Linked DNA regions of Homo sapiens: regions 1 and 2 are each linked to region 3. The links are contacts of gene promoters, found by promoter capture Hi-C in blood cells and fetal thymus (Javierre and others, 2016). All regions are on one chromosome and are shown on one strand. Each heading gives the region's core, a stretch centred on a gene start or on the middle of the fragment in contact. The rest is flanking DNA. Distances are from core to core; before and after follow the strand shown. Region 1 has its middle 140 kb from the start of LINC02498. Region 2 has its middle 160 kb from the start of LINC02498. Region 3 holds the start of HS3ST1 (heparan sulfate-glucosamine 3-sulfotransferase 1).

Evidence for each region. The method cuts DNA at HindIII sites, captures the fragments that hold promoters and counts their contacts. A CHiCAGO score of 5 or more calls a contact.
Region 1: a fragment that was not itself captured here is called in contact with the fragment with the promoter of HS3ST1 in region 3 in 2 of 17 cell types (total B cells and naive B cells); the score reaches 6.1 in total B cells.
Region 2: a contact is called between a fragment that was not itself captured here and the fragment with the promoter of HS3ST1 in region 3, in 2 of 17 cell types (naive B cells and total B cells). The highest score is 7.9, in naive B cells.

Annotation. Positions count from the first base shown.
Region 1 is chr4:10,873,311-10,878,190 of GRCh38, forward strand. No RefSeq gene overlaps it. Among named protein-coding and RNA genes, the nearest start is that of LINC02498, 140 kb to the left of the region's middle. The HindIII fragment of the contact is 1,558 bases long and covers 2,831-4,388 here.
Region 2 is chr4:10,895,450-10,899,967 of GRCh38, forward strand. No RefSeq gene overlaps it. Among named protein-coding and RNA genes, the nearest start is that of LINC02498, 160 kb to the left of the region's middle. The HindIII fragment of the contact is 2,690 bases long and covers 1,830-4,518 here.
Region 3 is chr4:11,425,395-11,430,379 of GRCh38, forward strand. It overlaps HS3ST1 (heparan sulfate-glucosamine 3-sulfotransferase 1), which reads right to left and starts at 3,500. Exons shown (of 2, transcript NM_005114.4): 1 at 3,305-3,500. RefSeq lists an enhancer at 3,156-3,375 and a silencer at 3,466-3,645. The HindIII fragment of the contact is 3,893 bases long and covers 941-4,833 here.

The DNA of each region.
Region 1 (4,880 bases), core at 2,360-4,859, 550 kb before region 3:
CTGTTGGCCAGGAGTTGCTCTCAATCCTGGCGGCCAACCTTGTATCCTAGTCACATGACTGTCTTGCAACATGTGGTTTCTTTTCAGAGCCAGCAGGAGAATCTCTCCCTTTGGTGGGACAAAGTCTTATGTTAAATTATTTGATTTGATTAGGTTACATTATCAGGTGAAGGTGTTGTAATAATCACTCCCATGTTAGCATTACTTTATATATATCATATTCCACAGACCTAGCTTCTCTCAGGAGGAAGAGATTATACTGGGCACATACACTAGGGGGTGGGAGTTTTTAAGGCCTTCTTAGAATTCTGTGTACCACAGGTATTTAGTAGTATTGATTTAAAATTAGGTCAACTTGATTTGGTTCTATTGTTTTATAGAATCCTTTATTTAGAACATTGCACACAGAGAGAGACCATCTATTAAATGTACATAGAAGGCAGGAGAAAGTAATGGCTATAACCTCTAAAATGTTTACCATGTTTTGCACTGTTAACTCAAAAAGCACTTCAACACAGCATCTGTGTCTGACATCCTCACCTGTAGCTGCCACAGGCTTAATGAAGTGACACTTAAGGAGTGGGTGAACAAAAATCTTCATCCAATTTTTGAGCACCAAGCACTGAACTATATTTGTTTTCTAGGGCTTAAACAACCATTTATTGTCTCACAGTTCTGGAGACTGGGAAGTCCAAAATCATGGTGTCAGCAAAACTGGTTCCTTCTGAGGCCTCTCTTCCCAGCTTGTAGATATATGGCTGCCTTCCCTTTGTGTCCTCACATGGCCTTCTCTCTGTGTGTGTCAGTGCCTTAATCTCCTCTTCTTATAAAGACGCCAGTCATATTCAATTGGCACCAACCCTAATGACCTTTTTAATTAATCTAATTATCTCTTTAAAGAGCCTATCTGCAAATGCAGTGGTATTCTGATGCACTGAGGGGATTGGAACTTCAATATAAGGATTTTGGGAGGGACACAGTTCAGCCCATGACACCAATCAAGTGTGAGGCACCCAGAATAGGAATTATTATTCTCATATTATAATGACAAACTTCGGGCATAGATAATGACTCAAGGTCCAATCACTGATATGGGGCCATAGGAACTTTTAAACACAAGCAGCAGAGCTACCTCTTTTGATCTCTTTTAGGTGCGCCAAATTGTGTGGCAGGTTGAAATTTACCTCTCAGACATGAGAAGAAATGCTATTAAGTTGGGACACAATGAAGTCAATCTCAGAAGGCTTTATTAAATCGGTAGCTTTTTGGGGGACATAAATTATCCTTGCTTTCCCTGCTGCATGAGTGCTATTCAAAGACTTTTTGTTTTACCTCATCCTCTTGTTTTATGATGAATTTGTGCGTGAAAAGACTCATTAAGAACATCATTATTCTACATTTATCAGTAATGAACTGTCTGTGGCACCTATTAGCAGCAAAATGGTCTAAGTCCCGTTTTGTATCTGTCTACATTCTTCTTCATTATTTTCTGCTCCACTCTCATCCATTTAAAATGGATTTGGCTGGGTGCAATTTTATCCCCAATTGTTCTTTTATTTGAGAGACAAATATTAATAGAATTCATAATCCTTGAGGAGTCCACTCCAAATGTTCCAATATGAAAATGACTTTTTAATTTTTAATGCTGGTGAGGGGCAGGGACGCTCACCTCCAGAACCTACTGTGTAGCAGACTCTCTGCATTTATTATTACAGTTAATTTTTGGAACTCAGAAATGGGCATTAATGTCCCCATTTTACCAAAGACAGATGGGAGGAACAGAGGGAGAATGCCTCATTTTGGCCATTCATCCTAGTACTAAGTCCACTATATGGGTGTGGGGCTAGGGGGTTAGGGATCAAGACCATTGCCAAAGGTTATGTTGCAGAATAGGTTTTTTTCTGAATTCCACATTCATGCTGATTCCAATATACCCAGACATAGGCTCAAACCTGGAACTTATTAAAATGTGTGAGTACCTCTGCTGACTGCAAGCTCCACAACACCTTTTGCTTAGTTAGCCTAGTTCATTTCTGCTGGTGTTTTATTATGCAAATGTCTTGTTCTGGTTTAGTCTGTCACCTTTTAGGCAAGAAAAGAGATTTTAAAAAAATCTTTCTCACTTCTTTAGTTCCTTTGCAGATTTTTTTTTCTCTTTATCTCCCTCCTCGTAAAATTAAGATTCCTTGGGAGGACATAGAGGGCAGAGATCTTACCAGAGCCCCACCCAGATGCAGAAAGTTATGTAATTTTACATCTAAACCTTCCAGCATCTCCTACTGCACCCAATTGAGAGGTATGCTGTTTCACTTTCTATCATTTGCTCAGAGCCAGGAAACAAAACCTGTGATTAACAAACCAAGTCTTAAATGCGATTTTAAAATATTGACAAACAATCTTATGTATGTCTTTCATGCCTAAACTTCAGAGTGTGAGAATTTTTGTGGGCTTCTGTTGATGCAAAGGATACACTTTGAGGCCCTGAGTCCTGTGGGTCTGAACTTCAGCTTCACCCTCTGGAAATGTTCACTTCGATAAGCAAATGCATTCCGGTATTGTAGGATACAGATATTGTAGAAAACTAATTCAAAGTGACCTAACCAAGAGTCTTCTGCACACTGTACCTACATCTTTTTGTTTTAAATTTATTTTAAATATTCTGTTGCACCTAGATCTATGAACGGTAAAATTATAGTAAATATTTTTGACCAACTTTTCCCATATTGAGATACCTATAGTTATCTACCTATATGTATCTATATTTCTACAAATCATTGTTCAGTCATCTCAACATTTTCCACCAACAAAGGCCTTTGCAACACAAATCTAAAGCTTTCCAAATGGCATATGAAGGAAGCAAAGTGGTTTTCAGGCCCAGAAATGCTGACCAATGAGTCTCCTCCGTTCTGACTATGATTTTAGAGAAGGTGCAGCTTCTCAGACATGAGAAAAACCTTTCTAAAGGAAGTGATTAAAACATACGTAAAGATATACCTTTAAATAAATCAATTTCTTCCACTATTATATGTTCTGTTCACATGCCCTCTTTTTCAACTCTTGGCTAATAGCTAGGTATCAAAGGCCAGATGCCTATTTCCAAATCCTGACTCTGGTAGCTACTAAGTCTTTCCCGGCCTCTCTTTCCTCATCCATAGAATAGGATAATAGTAAGACCTACCTCGGAGTGATATTGTGAGTACAAAGTGTTAACCTCTGAGCTTAGCTTCTAGCAAGCATTTATTCAACATTAGTGCTTGTTGCTATTATTTTGCAGTATACACATCTAAATGCCATAAATATTGATCAGTTGCATGCCTGTCTTTAAGTGGATGTTGCAGATGAAGAATTTCTACTGTTCTAACCTATGTAAAGAAAGCATATATCTCTTGGGTTAGGGATTTGTCAGCCATACAATAACAAGAACAAAGATTCAGAGGGGTGGAGGCTCACTAACAAATTTGATTTTTGGTAGGACACATAAGCAGTTGTGAGATACACGCATATTCAATTTTTCCAGCATGTTCTGTTTCCATGCTCTCCAATCTATATTCTTATTATTATTTGATTTTGCCTGTAAGTCAATGCAAGGGAGACAGTGGCTGGCCATGTGGATTTTAAGCCCCTCAGTCCAGTGAGTGTTGCTTCTTGTTATGGGCCATTTTCTTGCCTCTCTGCCTGTAGGCATTGTGTATATAAATTTAGTCAATGTGAGTCATCCACACAAAGGGTACTTTTTTACTCAGTATTCTAACATAAGTCATATTTCTGAATTTCCAGGACCCAGGGCTCAACTCTGAAACATGGCCCTGACTGGTTAATATATCAGGACTACTAGAGCTTAACTATTCAAAGTGTGTCCTTGGGCCAGCAGCATCAGCATCACTTGGGAACTTAACACACATTAGAATTGCAGAATTTCATGCTCCACTCCAGACCTACTGAATCAGAATCTGTGTTTCACTAAGATCCCTAGGTGATTCATACACACTTGAATGTGGGAAAATTGCTCTACTAGAACATAAGGACTGTCCACATGATCCCAAGTAATCCCATATATGGGTGAGCTTCTGCCTATGGGATAGACATAGAGCAAAGATGTGGAGTGGTGGGAGAATAGGCAGTTGAGGGAGAAGAGTAGAGTGTTGAGTTTCCTGATTTATAGGGAAGGTAGTTGTCAGAACATGATGAAATAAGAAATCCTGGGGTCAAGATTTTGAACGAGTGGTTTGAGCAGACGTTGCTTGCTTCTAGGAAGATTATACAACATGAGGAGAAGGGCACACTGTGATTCAGGTGCAAAGGCATCAATTATTGTGAAAGAAAGACCAGGAAGTTGCTGGGTGGCAGGAATGTGAAGGAGTAGAGGAAGCTATAGTCCACGGGTATAAAGCTTAGTATCTGAGCATTGGTCAGTTTTTGCACTAGATGGTGGTACACTCACTCATCACTGCATTTCCTACAGTGATGGAGCAGCTTGCACACAGTAGGTTCTCAACAAATGTTGGTTGCTTGAATGAAAAACAATAATAGCATCTCTTGGGAATCACCGTATTTAGCATTTCGTATATACTAACTAATCTAATCTTCAATATAACCCCATCAAGAAGTTGTTACTATTGTTCTTTTCTTCTTTCTCTTTTCCTCCTCCTTTTTCTTCATCTCTTTCCCCAATTTCCCCTTCTTTCCTTCCTCCTTTTCCTCCTCCTTATCATCATCATCATCATCATCATCATCTTTTCTGATGGAAAGAGTAGATAACTAATGTACAAAGAGTAACTTCCCTAAAGCCATGTAACTAGTGAGTCTGATTCTGGATCTCACACTCTGAGGAAAGAATAAACAATATGATAGAATTTTTACCCAGGCACACAAATCTAGAG
Region 2 (4,518 bases), core at 1,925-4,424, 530 kb before region 3:
GAAACGGAAGAAAGTGTCATGGATATCCATTGCCAGGTAGGCTTCCTGATCGTCATCTTCAGTGTTACACATATTCATTCACCCCAGCAAAGACCATGCCAAACCCGTCCACGTGAGGATTAGGACCTGGAGCAGCAGCTTAGAACATGTGGTTCTGACTACCCAGACAAAGGGCTTGGGCTGCATGAACTACTTCCCGAAGGCTGTCATGACAAAGTACCACAAACCTGGTGGCTTAAAACAACAGAAGTTTGTTTTCTCACAGTTGTGGGGTCCAGAAATCAGAGTGGGTAGGGCAGTGGTCCTTCCAAAGCCTCTAGGGTAGAATCTTTCCTTATCTTTCCCAGCTTCTGGTGGGTTCAGGAGTTGCTTAGCTTGTGGCCGCATCACCTCAGTCTCTGCCTCTGCCTTCACGTGGGTCTTCTCCTCACCTTCTCTTTGTCTCATCAAAGATTCTCCTGCCTCTTCTCTTAAAAGGACATCTGTCATTGGTTATAGGGCCCACCTTGAATCCAGGATGATCTTGAGATTCTTAATTACATTGGGCAAATACTCTTTTGCTAAATAAGTTCACATTTATAGGTTCTAAGAATTAGGACTTAGACATATCTTTCTTGGGAACCACTATTCAATCCACAACACTGCATATACCCACGTCTTTTTCCAAAGCTACCACCGAGGTAGGTCCACCCTCTTCTGAAGAATATCCAGGAAGAGGGAGAATGTGAAGGAGGCCAGGGGTCCTACTGAAGAGGTCCATCCTCAGTTGATAAAAACCAACATCATGAATGGGGACAGCTGTTCTCCCTAACAGTGCCATAATAATAACAACCATTCAATGTGCCAGGTACTTTTGTAAGCAGTTTAGAGGTATTAACTCATTTAATCTCCCCATGAACCTGTGAGAAAAGGACTTTTATTATCCCCATTTCAGGTGAGAAAACTGAAGTATAGAATGTTAAACAACTTATCTGAGCTTATGCATAAGTAAATGGTGCAGCTGGAATTAAATGCTGGCAGGCTGGTTGCAGAGGTCAATCTTAGCCCCTGACTTTCCACATCACCTGGTACATTTGCCATCTGTACTATGATGAGACTGGGGTTATCATATAAACCGCTCTGGGAGAACTATGATCAATGGTGCCTTGAACTACAGTAAATGTACAACAGGGAAAAGTTGAGTAAATGATGGTCTTCCCCTCTAATAGGATATTCTGCAGCAACTTTAAAAGTATTTTTGAAGATATTTCATGATAATCTAAAATATTCATAAAATCATGTTAAGAGAAAATGCCAGATTATATGTAATTCAAAAATATATCTTATATCTATAAATATATTCATAGAAAATAAATCAGAAAAAGTATATTAATATGTTAATATTGGTTGTCTCTACATTGGAAACTGTTTCTTCTGTCATTTCTTCTGTATTTTTCAGATTATCTGCAATAAACATATATTGCTTCTATGGAAGTAAAAGCAAGGCTGCTATTAATTGGGGCCAAAGAGAAAGATAAGAAATAATTCAAATTGTTTCCAGGAACTGGTAGATAAAAAACAAAACAAGACAAAGAAAAGGGCCCCATCCTTGGGCCTGTGCAGGAGCATAAAGAGGAGAAGCATTAGGTTCTAAAGAATTTTGATTAGCAAGAGCCAGACAAGAACCTCAGGGGTGGTGGCTGCACGTGCATGGGGTGACATGAGGAAAGGTGCCACAGAGCACACAGAAGACTCCCAGTCGGTTGATTTCCTGTGTTTTCTGGCTGAAACATGGAGCAGGCATCAGAGAGGCCAGAAGGATAGCTCAGCATTTCCTGGGCAATAGTCCAAGCTTAATTTTGCTCACAAGGTTTTTACACGTTCCAAATGAGAACACTGTGGTGGGCCAGCTTCCTACGTCTCCACCTACATCACTCATGGGGGAGCATTTACGCCAGGTCTTCCCTGTGAAACCTGATTCTGTATGCCCAGCACTGAGGAGGCCATCTCCAGATGAAGCAGAAGCCCTGCACCCTACCCTACCCTACCCTACCCTACCCTACCCTACCCTACCCTACCCTACCCTACCCTACCGTACCCTACCGTACCCTACCGTACCCTACCCTCTTTTCTTTTTTGAGACAGAGTCTCGCTCTCTCGCCCAGGCTGGAGTGCAGTGGCGCGATCTCGGCTCATTGCAAGCTCCGCCTCCCGGGTTCACGCCATTCTCCTGCCTCAGCCTCCGGAGTAGCTGGGACTACAGGCGCCCACCACCACGCCCGGCTAATTTTTTGTATTTTTTTTTTCTTTGAGACGGAGTCTCGCTCTGTCGCCCAGGCCGGAGTGCAGTGGCGCATGCCCGGCTAATTTTTTGTATTTTTTAGTGGAGACGGGGTTTCACCGTGTTAGCCAGGATGGTCTCTATCTCCTGACCTCGTGATCCGCCCGCGTCGGCCTCCCAAAGTGCTGGGATTACAGGCGTGAGCCACTGCGCCAGGCCGGCAGAAGCCTGATCTAAACTTTAAGGCTGGGTCCAGGCAGTTTTCACTCTAAAGCACATTGCCACCATGCTCTTAAAGGACTGTAGCTCACTCCAGCCACTTGAAGGGAAAAAGAAGTGGTAAAGATACACACAAAGACCAGAGCCGGTCCTGGATCTAGAAGGCCAAGTGGTGTTCAGGAGCTAAGGCTGTCCAGGAACTAGCTAAGCTCTCTTTGTCTTTTCCTGCCTTCATGGTTTCATTCACCTGCTCAGGATGACTCCATTTCACATTTCACATCTACTTCAACTTCCTTTTTCTACCAGCTGGCTTTTTGCACTGTTTAATTCGTCTATTTTATAGGCTATGCTTCACTTTGGCTCACTTGAGACCCAGCATGACTCTCTCACCTCTCACTGTGCTATGGCTTTGAGCAGCAGCTTCCTCTGTTAGCGCCGCTTTTGGTCAATGACTCTGAATTCCAGAGAGAGAAACGATTTGATTGGTCAGGCTGGTTTTCCCTGTGAATGGAAGATGACAGGGCATTGGCTGGCTCCAGGATTTGCTGCCTTAGTCAATCAAGCATGTCTCTTGGCGTTGTCCACTTCTTCAGGTCCTATGGGAGAGGAATTTCTTTACAAAGATGGTGTTAGGCCAGGCACAGTGGCTCACGCCTATAATCCCAGCACTCAGGGAGGCTGAGGCAGGCAGATCACCAGATCAGGAGTTCGAGACCAGCCTGGCCAACATAGTGAAACCCTGTCTCTACTAAAAATACAAAAATTAGCCGGGTGTGATGGCGTGTGCCTGTAGTCTCAGCTACTCGGGAGGCTGAGGCAGGAGAATCACTTGAATCCTGGTGGCGGAGGTTGCAGTGAGTCAAGATGGCACCAATGCACTCTCAGCTTGGGTGACAGAGAGAGACTCTGTCTAAAAAAAAAAAAAAAAAAGAAAAAAGAAAAAGAAAATATGGTGTTGGTGGCATGCCAGGCACTGTGATCAATGGGTCTTCTATATTGTTTATGCAGAAAAGACCACTTTTTTAATGAAAGCGCATTGACACGGCAGGCAGTTACAGCTAAATGAATTTTTAGGTCAGCAATCTAACATGGATCTTTGGACCAATTTATCTGGGAGGGGAAGCCTGTCACCAATGGGCAGTTTATTTCAAAATATGAGAAGAGGGCTCAAAGAAGTCAGAAAAAGAATCTTATTTTTGTTCCTTTAGGTTATAGCATAAAGAGAAATGGTCAGGAATTTAATCATGGTTACTTCCCCTTCTAGGACTACACATTTATTTTCGTAAAGTATATGAAATATAGTTTTTACTCTGGTAAGTGATTTTGAAGTGTTGTCTTGGGGGAACCACTAAAGAAAATATACTTTGACCTTATCTTAGCTTGGTGCATCTCTCCACTGATTATCAAGTTGTGGCTCCAGAAATTTCAGACAGAGTTGGCCTAATTGGGGATACTGCGCATGAAAATGAATTGCACAGCTGGGACCCTCAAAACTGCCTTGGCTAATTAACAGGAAGTAGCTTTGAACTATTTGCTGTATTGGGCATTGTGGTAGTTACTAAATGATTGGATCAAGTCCAAACCAGCTAGAAGGACCCAAGAGTTTGAGGACATGTTTCCCAGATACTATGAAGAGACAGAGGACAGAGGCTCTTGCTATTCCAAGCATAGAAAACTTTCTTTTCTTTACTTTTATTTTTTGGTAGTAGCACATGTGCAATCCTGTGGGGTGGGCAGGGCATTTAAAAAAAAACAAACATTTATTTTTGGGAAGACCACTTGGATTATATATTCTTGACTTCAGCTAAGAAAGATTGGATAAAACATTAAACACGTTGAAGATATAAAGTCTTTTGTTTTCCTCTCATCCTCTTTTTGTCTATCTCTTGTCTCTTTTTAAATTCTAGGCTTGGATTATAGTTCTCATTGTGCCATTTCTTGGCTTGTCAATTGGCTTCTGTAAATCTTCATTTTTTTTCATCTATAGGTCTATTCACACCCACCATTTCTATTTCTATTACTGTTTCAAATGACAATGT
Region 3 (4,985 bases), core at 2,250-4,749:
GCCCTCTCTTCAAACAGATTTTCTTAAGACATGTAATGTGTATTATGTTAAAAGGAAAAACACTCTAAAAATTGACTGTGATCCTGAAAACAAGAAAGGAATCATTCTGAGAAGTAGTGAGGCCCGGTGCTTGTAGCATTCAGGTGGAGTGATCACAAGAAGAGACTGGCCAATTAAAAGAAATCTCTCCCACTTAATGTTTAGCATATGTCATTTACTCAGACATATGCAAACTATGATTAAAATGAACATTAAAATAGATCTACGATAAAACTTAATTTTTTGTATTTTTTACCCTTTACAATTGCACAAGTGTTCTCCAATCGGCAAGATGCATTTCATATACATTTTCTCACTTTCTTATAATAATCTTTTCATCACTGTTTTGCAGAGGAAGAAATTTAGGGTCAGGGAGGGAGAAATTGTTGCCCAAGGTCATGGGGCAAGAAGTTGGCTTTAAATCCAGCTAGCACTCTCCTGCCTTCTGCCATAAGAAAAGAGCAGCCTCAATTGAAAGCACCAGGTCAAGTAGCCAGGTTGAGGGGAAAAAAACTGGGAATAGCCCTGATATTTTCCAGCACTAGCTGGAAAGTTACTGCATTTCCCTGGAAGCTGCTAAAAAGTTACCACTCTCCTGCAACAACTGTCTCTAACACAGGGACCCAGGCTTAGATGCAGGCCCGGAAACCTGGTGCCTGAGCACTGACCCAGCCTACAGGCTCAATTTCATCAGGACACCAGATACATCTTACTGTGCCTTCCTCCAAACTTTAGCCCCCATAGACAGACATGATTTAGCAACCACGGTGGGGATATGCCATTGTGGGTAGCTGCTATGTTCTCAGAAAGGCAGTGTGCATGAGTGAAGCAATTTACACCACCCAGGCCATCTTTCTAGCCCCTTCCTAGTCACCATCGAGTTTCAATTCAAGGCAAGAGAAGCTTCCATGTGGCTTTTCCCTTCAGAGGCCCCCCCCCCAACCCTCACAAGATTTTTCCAGTAAAATAATTTCTTATTTTAATAAGAAAAGTACATGCTCCAACTTTTAGGGGGACCCAGGGGGGGGGCTTGAGGCTTCATTCTAGACATAACCACAGGAAAGTAAAGAACCCTTTGCTTTTTCCGATGCCATCTCAAGATGCCAATTTCTCACCAGCTTCTCAGAACAAAAATCTCCTATCTTAAAACTACAGAGCATTGTATACCCTGTGGCATCACAGAGGATCCACAGTCTAGAAGCACAGCTTAATAAGCCTCACTAAGGAATCTTCATCTATGCTGCTGTTGTAATTAACTGCTTCCACTTAAGAGTGCTTAGTCATGAAGTTGTCCATCCCTGTCAAACTCAGCTGAAAGAGTTAGATGGGCTAACCAAAACCTGGAAAGACTCTTTTAGAAGCTGTTCTTTCTCTGCTTAGCGCTGGAGAAAACCTTATGTAACACAATGGTCCATTTCAATATGTTATTTCTGCAATCCTGTGGGGGAAAATCTAAGCGCTGGATGTACAACGGGAAGGGTAAGGCAGGGATTTGCAGCGGAGCGCGCGTCTCCTGGAATTTCAGTAGGTAAGGCTTATTCTAATTGCACCCAGTGTTACCCAATATTACCAGGAATGCAGAAAGCAAGAAAAAAATCCGAACGTCAAAGGATGCGCTTTGCTTTAGAAATGCAGGGAGGCAGAAGTTGGGTTATTTCTCCCTCCTTTTTTTTTCTTTTTTTTTTAAAGATGGAATTCCTGGAATTAACCCTTGGGTGGAAGCATTTCAACAAAATAAAATGAGATTTGCCTGCAAAGCGAGAACGCACGGGTGGGAATGAAGGATCCTGCCTGTGCCAGGCTGCTGCCTCAGCAGTGTCCAAGCACCCAGCGCCTGAAAGCGGGAGCGTGGGGACTCGTCTGGGGACCCTCTTCCGGGGCTACTGGCGGGAGGCGCAGCCGAGCTGGTGGTGGCGGGGTTTCCCTCCGGGGCTAGGGCTGAGGGAGGAGAAGAGGGCGGACTGGCTCCTTCCGTTCTCGGCCACCCTCCCCGCCACTCCTTGAGGCTGCTCCATGCTAACAGGAGACTGTTTCTCGGAGCGCAGCGCAAAGACAGTGGATTTGGAGTGGCCTCCCTAGAATCCCCCCAAAAGCATCTTGGCACAAGTTGTAGATAAAAATAGCTCATGATAACATTGTGGGAAAGGGAGGAGCGAGACTCGCGCAAGGCGAGGCAAGGGTACCACTGGATCTGCAAAGGAGGAGGAAGAGGGAGGATGCAACCCTTGGCCCAAGAGAGCGCCCTGAGTGTGCGAGGAATCGCTGGCTCCCAGGGGAGGGAAAGAGATGGAAGACCTATAGCGCCTATAACTGCAGAGTTATAGACCTATAACTGCAGAGCCCAGCACACCCCATCCCGCGCCGGCACCCGGCTTTGGCTCCAGCTTCTTCTTCCCATCATCCGCCTACGTTCTGGGTCTGTCCTCCGCTTCCTGGGACAGGCTGGGGCTAGAAGGAGGAGCAGCGCGCCGTCCGCCCCCTGGCTGGTAGAGCGCACCTGGAGAGGTCAAGCTCCGCGAATAAGACCCTTCCTGGGAGCTGGGGTCTAGGCGTTCCAACCGCGGGTTCGCACCCCGCCATCCCTCACCTCCATCCGCTGCCACTACCCAAGGGCCCGGAAATAGAAAACCACGAAGGGGGAAAAAAATCAGTAAAAAGTAACAAGAAAAAAATCAAGACCCTCATGTAATTGGCATTAGGGATGAGAGGTTTATTGTCAGGGCTGTCACCTCAATCTCTCTCTTTGGGAGATGCCTATCTCCAACCAAATGCAAAGGCAAACCCGACCAAGGCTTCTCCACCCCCAAAGGCTCCCTCAGCCGAGTTACTTTTGCGGGCTGTGTCCTCGCCCCAGTTTCTGGCCCCAGGTGGTACCCAGGATCCGTTGAGTGCTGCGCTCTCGCTGCCCTACAGGGTCCTATGGTGAAGCTGCGGTCGCGAAGCGGCCGGCAGGAGCGAACCTCACGACTCTGCAGGGGGGGAAAACATCCAACCCAGTAAGAGTCAGAAATCTGGGTCCCTGTCCTTACAGATCAACCGGTCCCTCGGGACTTCCAGAGCAGAGGTGCTAGGGCAGGAGGTGAGGAGGATGGGAAAATCCCCAGCCTTTGCTTCCTGGTTCCCTCTGCATCCACTCCACCTGCTCCAGCCTCGATTCTTCTTAGGTTCTGCACTTGCCCGAAGTCCAGAACGCCAGACAAAGGCACCTCGGAGCCCTCTACACCTGCGTCCTGCCACTCTCCCACCCCGCGCGCGCCGCACTCACCTGAGCCGCGCCTCTGTCCAGCCCGTCCGGCGCCCTAAATAGGCTCCTAGGCTGGGCCATGGGCAGCACTGCCGAGCACCCGCGGCGGGTAGAGCAAGTTTCTGGATGGCCCGGGGCAGGCGGGCGGGGAGAAGGCGCAGGCACCCACTGAGACCCGGCTGTCGTGGCGGCGACTCCTGGCTGCCAGGGCGCAGAGGACCTTGCAGGCGGGCGTTTTGGTGCTCAATCCCGAGGAGGGGGAGGAGCGGGAGGAGGAGCGGGAGCAAAAGGAGGGGACGGAGGAGGCCGGGCCCGGAGGGAGAGCGCGTTGGGCAGAGGAGGATCGCGAGCGCCCACTGCTGCCCGGCCCGCTCGGGTGCCGCCCAGAGTCCGGCCCGCTAGGTGCCTGGTGCTCCGCTCTGCGCTCAGCTGCTCCGCACAGCCCCGCCTGGCACGCAGCTCCAGCGGCTGGTCGGGTAGTAGTCGGTCCCGCCCACCCGGTGCGGTGGCCCCTGGGGTTTCAGTCCAAGGGGAGGGACCAGCGCTCCAAGAAGGTGAGGCTGCTGGGATGGGTGACTCCGCCGTCACTGCAAACACGGGACGTCCCGTCTACTCCCTTACGCCTGCTTGGTCTGAGCCCGAGTCTACCTCTTCTCTAAGTCGCCAGCTCGGCACTTGTACCCGGGACCTGTGCTCCTCCCACGTGAGTCTGCACCATGCGTATTCCCTTCCTGGCAGGTGACCCACCTTAGGCGCTGGCGCTCCTTCCGCCCCCCGGGAAGCAGGAGGTGCCATCCTCTCCAATTCGCTCTGCAGCCGGACTGGGACCGGAGCGGCGGCCTGGGCCAGAATCCGCGTGAGGAGCCGGCTTCAAAGAGCGCCCTGTCGCCATTGAACACTCCTTTTCCTTTGGTTTAGCGTCGGAGAGCGGACGCCAATTTGCCAGGAGAGCGCGGAAAATTCAGCTTTTTTTTTTTTTTTTTTTTTTTTTTTTTTCCGCTAGTGCACTAGGATTGCAAACGTCAGCTCTGAAATAAAAAGCAGGATATTTCTGCCCCGCTCCTCTATTCCGGAAGCTGGGAGGTTCTGTGGGAGAAAGGACCTGCACCCAATAACTCAATTTAAGATTTAAGGTTTTGAGGGGCGTGGGGTTGGAATCGCCTTGGAGAAACGGGTTTGCCTGCTTACCTGAGCCAAAGGAAGTTGCCCTCAAAGGCAGGTCAGCAATCATACCCCGCCAAAAGCAAATGCACATCAAAGTAACTTCCTTTAAATGAGATTACTGTAGTTTCCATGTCTTCCACATTAGTAAATAAATATTTGGAAGACTTCGAATTTGTGATTTACGTTTAAATATATTTCACCAACATTGTTTAATTAAAAAAAAATCCCATCTAAGAGAAGGTTCCTATAGGAAATTGGCCCTTTAACTCATACACAGATTACCCTCGGCACTTTCAGAAAACAACACAGTGACCAGTATATTCTGTCTTTTTGATACAGCCAGAAGCACCCTGAAAGCTGAGACCTAACTGTGCTTTTGGAAAATAAGCTTTTAGGAGTTGAATGACCTTGTCTACTTCTTTTAGTCAGAATAATGTTGGCATGTCTATTTTAGGTTAAAAAAAAATACAAATTCTAAAAAGTGACTTTAAAGGCCCACTTTGAAAGCCTTAGCATTTAAACTAACATTAGATTTAAA